Regions from separate parts of the Homo sapiens genome. Here region 1 is linked to region 2. The links are contacts of gene promoters, found by promoter capture Hi-C in blood cells and fetal thymus (Javierre and others, 2016). All regions are on one chromosome and are shown on one strand. The core of a region is centred on a gene start or on the middle of the fragment in contact, and the rest is flanking DNA. Distances in the headings are between cores, read along the strand shown.

The links. Contacts are between HindIII fragments. The CHiCAGO score rates a contact against its expected background, and 5 or more counts as called.
Region 1: a fragment that was not itself captured here is called in contact with the fragment with the promoter of CHASERR in region 2 in 3 of 17 cell types (total B cells, neutrophils and non-activated CD4 T cells); the score reaches 7.5 in total B cells.

Annotation. Positions count from the first base shown.
Region 1 is chr15:93,022,282-93,024,981 of GRCh38, forward strand. It overlaps CHD2 (chromodomain helicase DNA binding protein 2), which reads left to right. Exons shown (of 39, transcript NM_001271.4): 39 at 2,091-2,700. The coding sequence ends at 2,424. Among named protein-coding and RNA genes, the nearest start is that of RGMA, 66 kb to the right of the region's middle. The HindIII fragment of the contact is 5,768 bases long and covers 1-2,700 here.
Region 2 is chr15:92,881,593-92,884,292 of GRCh38, forward strand. It overlaps CHASERR (CHD2 adjacent suppressive regulatory RNA), which reads left to right and starts at 1,251. Exons shown (of 6, transcript NR_037601.1): 1 at 1,251-1,594; 2 at 1,993-2,186. RefSeq lists enhancers at 578-667, 1,093-1,734 and silencers at 978-1,107, 1,728-1,977. The HindIII fragment of the contact is 7,161 bases long and covers 1-2,700 here.

The sequences.
Region 1 (2,700 bases), core at 62-2,561, 140 kb after region 2:
GAGGGAGCAAGAGAGAGAGGAGGAGGTGCCAGCCTCTTTTAAAGCACCAGCTCTCACGTGAACTCAGAGAACTCACTCATTATCACAAGGACAGCACCAAGCCATTTATGAGGGATCTGCCCAAACACCTCCCACTACAACATTGGAGGTCACATTTCAACATGAGATTTGGAGGGGACACATACCCAAACCGTATCACCATCTGGAGGTCTTTGGTGTGGCTGGTGAGAACAGGCACGATGCCAGTTCTTTGTGAGCACAGGGCACTGTTACCTTCAGTCTTTTCGGGTGGTCCTTTCCCTGGCCTTGGGTAGTTTCCCCACATGCACATCCTAAGCAGTATTCAGCTGTATACCTGGGAACCCTCTGTAGATCTTCAAACTTCTTTCTCTGCAGCACTGTCTTCTCTCATGCCATGCCCTGTGAACTCTGGCCACCTTGGTTCCCCATCCCTCACCTTGGGAAGCCAACTGGTGTCTTTCTGGGTTTCCTTCTTCCTGTGTCACAGCCTGAGGGACTATCTCATGATAGTGAACAGGAGCCGTTAAAAGGCTCATTTCATTAGTGTCCATTCCTCAGGGATCACTGTTCTTCATTGCCTGATGTCTGGTGTCTTGAAAACCACTGTTCTATGCATTTTGTCCCTTTTGGCTGTTTCAGGCAGGATGGTAAATCTAGTCCCTGTTATTCCATTTTGACTGGAACTTGAGATTGCTCACTTCTTCCTCCCTCTTTCTTTCATTGAGGTGAAATTCATATTACATAAAGGAACTATTTTAAAGCGAACAACTGAATGACCTTAGTGCATTTATAATATTGGGCAGCCACCACTTCTATCTAGTTCCAAAACACTTTCATCAGTCAGAGAAAACCCTATAACCATTAAATAATCCTTCCCCATTATTCCCTCTCCCCAGCCTCTGGCAGCCACCAGTTTGCATTCTGTCTCTCTGGATTTGCCTGTTCTAGACATTTCATATAGAAAGAGTCATACAATATGTGACCTTTTGTGTCTGGCTTCTTTCACTTAGCATAATGTTTTCAAGGTTCATTCATCAGTACTCATTCCATCCTTATGGCTGAATAATATTTCGTTGTGTGGATATATACCACATTTTGTTTATCCATTCATCTGTTGATGGACATTTGAGTTGTTTCCATCTTTGGGCTGTTGTGAATAATGCTGCAGTGAAGATTGGTGTACAGGTACTTGACTACCTGTTTTCAGTTTTGGATATGTGCCTGGGAGTGGAATTATTAGTCATATTCTTTACGTTTTTAGGAAACACCAAAATGTTTCTACGATGGCTGAACCATTTTACATTCCTACCAGCAATGTGTAAGAGTTGAAGGTTTTCCTTATCTTTGCCAACACTTATTTCCTGGGTTTTTTTTTTGTGTTTTTTTTTAATGAGTATCTCCATCTTCGTGGGTGTGAAGTAGTCTCATTGTGGCTTGAACATGCATTTCCCTAGTGATTAATGACATGGAGCATCTTCTCATGGTTTTTTTTGGCCATTTGTATAGCTTCTTTGGAGAAATGTCTGTTCAAATCCTTTGCCTGTTTTTGAGTTGGGTTGTTTTTGTTGTTGAGTTTTAGTAATTCTTTTTTTAATGGTATCATGAGCAGTTTACCATGGTCCAAGCTAAAAATTTTAATACTCTTCACACTGAGTTGGTTTTTAAGATAATTTTATTAACTAGTCACTCACTTGTTGCATATTTAGGTTGATGGTGTTATTAATAACTTACAAAATAATTTCTGTGGCTCTTTTTCTCATGGGCTGGGTCCAGGAATATGGTAATGTTTATGGATCTTACCAGATTTTTCCTAAAGGGAGTGAGTTTGCAAAAGCCATCAGTAATTTTTCAAGTGTGTACTTGTGTCACTGCACACTTGAGCCTTATTTCATAGGATGTATTTTGCTAATAAGTGTAAAATGACTCTGTTATTAATTTTTTTGATTCCTAATAATGTGAGCATTTGTCCTTGAATATGAGTATATGAGGAAGAGCCAAGTGGGTAGTGAAGAGAAGTGGATGGGAATCTGGCTTCAGTCTTTCGACTAATCCTTGCATCTCTATTTCAGGCACCATCATGACTCCAAGCGGAGGAGATCCGATGAATTTAGGCCTCAAAATTACCACCAGCAGGATTTCCGACGAATGTCTGATCACCGCCCCGCTATGGGCTACCATGGCCAGGGACCCTCAGACCATTACCGCTCTTTCCACACAGATAAACTGGGGGAATATAAACAGCCTCTACCCCCATTGCACCCTGCAGTCTCAGATCCTCGCTCACCCCCTTCTCAGAAATCTCCTCACGATTCCAAGTCACCCCTGGATCATAGGTCTCCTTTGGAGAGATCACTAGAACAGAAAAACAACCCAGATTATAACTGGAATGTTCGGAAAACATAAAGGACAGCTCGTAAAGGAGAGAGTAAGAGTCACCAAACACGTGGATATTTTTGGTCTGATCCTACAGTAGCCGGTTATCTAGACCAGTAAGTGGAGTTTTGGACATGCTGCTGCTGTCAACTCACTGGCTGAAGGAGCACTTCAAGGAATGGGAGGCCTTTCACTGGGTCCAGCTCTGATTCGGGTCACCACTCCTGCACTTTGGCACCCCATCCCATTCCAGCCTAGTTCTGGCCTCCCACTTTGACGGGCACTTGGAGGAGGAGCTGACTGTGT
Region 2 (2,700 bases), core at 1-2,500:
AGAGAGCTACCTCTTTTTTTTTTCCCCATCCATTTCAGGAAAGTTTAGGTTTTCATTTTTTTCCTATGGTCTTCTTAGAGTTGTTTCCACGTTAAAGTAGGAAGAAGTAACGAAAAAAAAGTGAGATTTGCCGAAAGCAAATGAAACTTGTTTTGCCTGGTTCTCTGGAAGGAGGTTGAAAAGGTAGACTATGATTTTTCAGGTTCAAACTGCTACTCTAACAAACATTGTCCTACAGGGTGGAATCCAGTCAACCGGTATTGAGATTGATTCGCTAAGGCCTCAGGACACTGGACATTCTTTTTAATTGTTTTTTTTGATTTCCATGACGACAGCTCACAAGACACTAGACATTCTTTTAGGCTCTCAGGTAAATGCGCAACAGGCAGTCTACAAATCCACAAATAAATCGCATCTCAACTCGGATACTGGGGCTAGGGAATGTGCTGATGGTAAAACCATTGGTCCTGACTGTGTGACCTTCATGGAAGGCCTGGGTGCTTAGAACAAATATTTTGAGGATATGGCTGCTTGCCCAAGGGCTGTGGGCCTGTATCTTGTTTGCTCATCATCCTGTCAGTCATTTTTTTCTTTCCCTTTTTTTAAAGACAAAATCTGAACCTAGAAACACCGAAGCCAGAGCTTTTTCTAGACGCGAATCCACTATTTGTGCGACCCTGCACTAACCATTCTAGCCTGGCCTAGACCATACCAGGAACCCTCCAGCTAGCCTGGAGGGGTCCGCACTGCGGGGAAAAAAGCAACAGCTCAGCTCCAACCCCAAAGGTTCCATCACCAGCCAATCGTGGCCCGGGGCTTCTCAAGAAAACCAGAAACGCCTACGGACAGTGAATGGCACTAAGGCCAGCCTATCCGCACGAAGGAGGCGGAAGGGGTGGTGTTGAAATTAACCAATAGAATGGAAGAAGTTGTTGTTGGGAGGGAGGAAGACGCCAGCTAACGTGCGTGAGGCCGCTCCCGGATAGGGGATGCAGGAAGCTCGTGGAGCCAATGGCCGCGGCGGGCGGGCGGCGGCGCGCGTGCGCGTTGGCCCCCGGGCCTGCGGGCGGGAGGCGGGGATGGTGGGGGAGGGGAGCGGGCTGGAGCGCGGCGGAGCTCCTGCCGCCGCCGCAGCCGCTGCCGCCGCAGCGAAGAGGCCATGTTGTGTGGTGTGTGGGGCGGGGGGAGGAGGAGGAGGGAGTAAAGCCTAGAGAGGAGACGGGAGAGAGACACCACACACACGGCACAAGATGGCCGGAGAGGCAGCAGCACCCCGAGCTGTCAGGCGTTCCGCCGCGGCCGCGAGGCCCGCCGGCCGGCGGGGAGCTACGCCCGGACGGCCAGCAGGCCCGCGGGAGTGGGGCTGCCGCGGCTGAGGCGAGGCGGGCCGCGCGCGTCGGCGTCACAGCCCGCGGCAGAGGCGCCCAGGGCGGCCGGGCCCACGACGCCGAAAGCGCCGCTGCGGTTGCCGCCTCGGAGGCTCCCCCGGGCCCCGGCGGCTGGACCCGGCGCGGGCGGGAGGCTCGGGCGGGCGGTCCGGCCCGGGACTCGGGTTTGGGCGACCAGGAGGTGCCGGTGGCCGCGCTCGGACCCGGTGAGTGGCTCCCTAGCTCCTTTTATTGTCCTTTGTCCTTGGGAGGAAAAGCAAAATGTCCTTGAGCGCGCGAGCAGGAGGGGGCGGCGGGCCGGGCCTCGCCGCTCGGCTCTTCTCGCACTGCCCCTCCGTGGTCGGGGGCCGGCTCTCGCCGGCGGGATGCGCCTCGGTGCCCTGGGCCCGAGTCGTAGGGTCCTGGGGTAGGGGGCACGCGGGGCCCCGCTGCAGAGCCCGCGGGCGGCAGGTGGGCGGGGGGCAGCCTCGTCGCCGGGACTGGATCCGCCGGGAAAGGGGCGGCGGGTGAATGCCGGCGAGAGCCCGAAGGGGATCGGGCGTGGAGAGCCCCTTTCTGTCCTGGTGAGTTATTTTGATATTTAGGGTAAAAAAATCCCTTTCAGGTTCTCCAACGGAGGAGCTTTTTAACCTCTTTCCGGTGAGGTGGGAACTCATCTTCATGATCGAATTTAAAAGAACAATGGAACCCTGACTACGTTTCAACAAAAATAAAACTTGTTTTTTTCCCTCCTATTGGGTGTTGGCTTTTAACTCTTTCAAAGCCGATTTTGAAACGGCTGCAGTGATACATGCGAAGGTACTTGCTGCTTATTAAACCTTTATGACGTTAAGGTTGTCTTTGAAAAATGCAAGTTGGAGGAGTGCTTCTGGTATTTCAGAATTACGAAGACAAGTTTACTGTGTCGTCAAGGCTGTTTAATGGAAATAGATTTGATAATTACGGTGCTAGCTAGCTGATGACGTTTGGTTAATGTAGTTTATTTTACCGAGTAATGACGCCAAGATCATTTGATCTCCTGATATTTAAATATGATTAAATACACTGTTTGGTACTTTTTAAAAAGGTCTCAAGGAGCCGTTATCTGCAACTTCTCACACCTGAATGTTAGAACGTACTTGGGTCAATTCCTAGTCTTTAAAAGTTCATAATTTAATTATTTTTAAGAATTTATATTATCACAAGCCATGATCGAAAAACTTTCACAAAAGAACATTCTGACACCAAATCTCTTCCTGAAGTTACTTTCTCGTAATGTAAATATGAATAAAGTAGGACTGCTCTCGGTAATGGGCGATGAAGAGGAGCCATA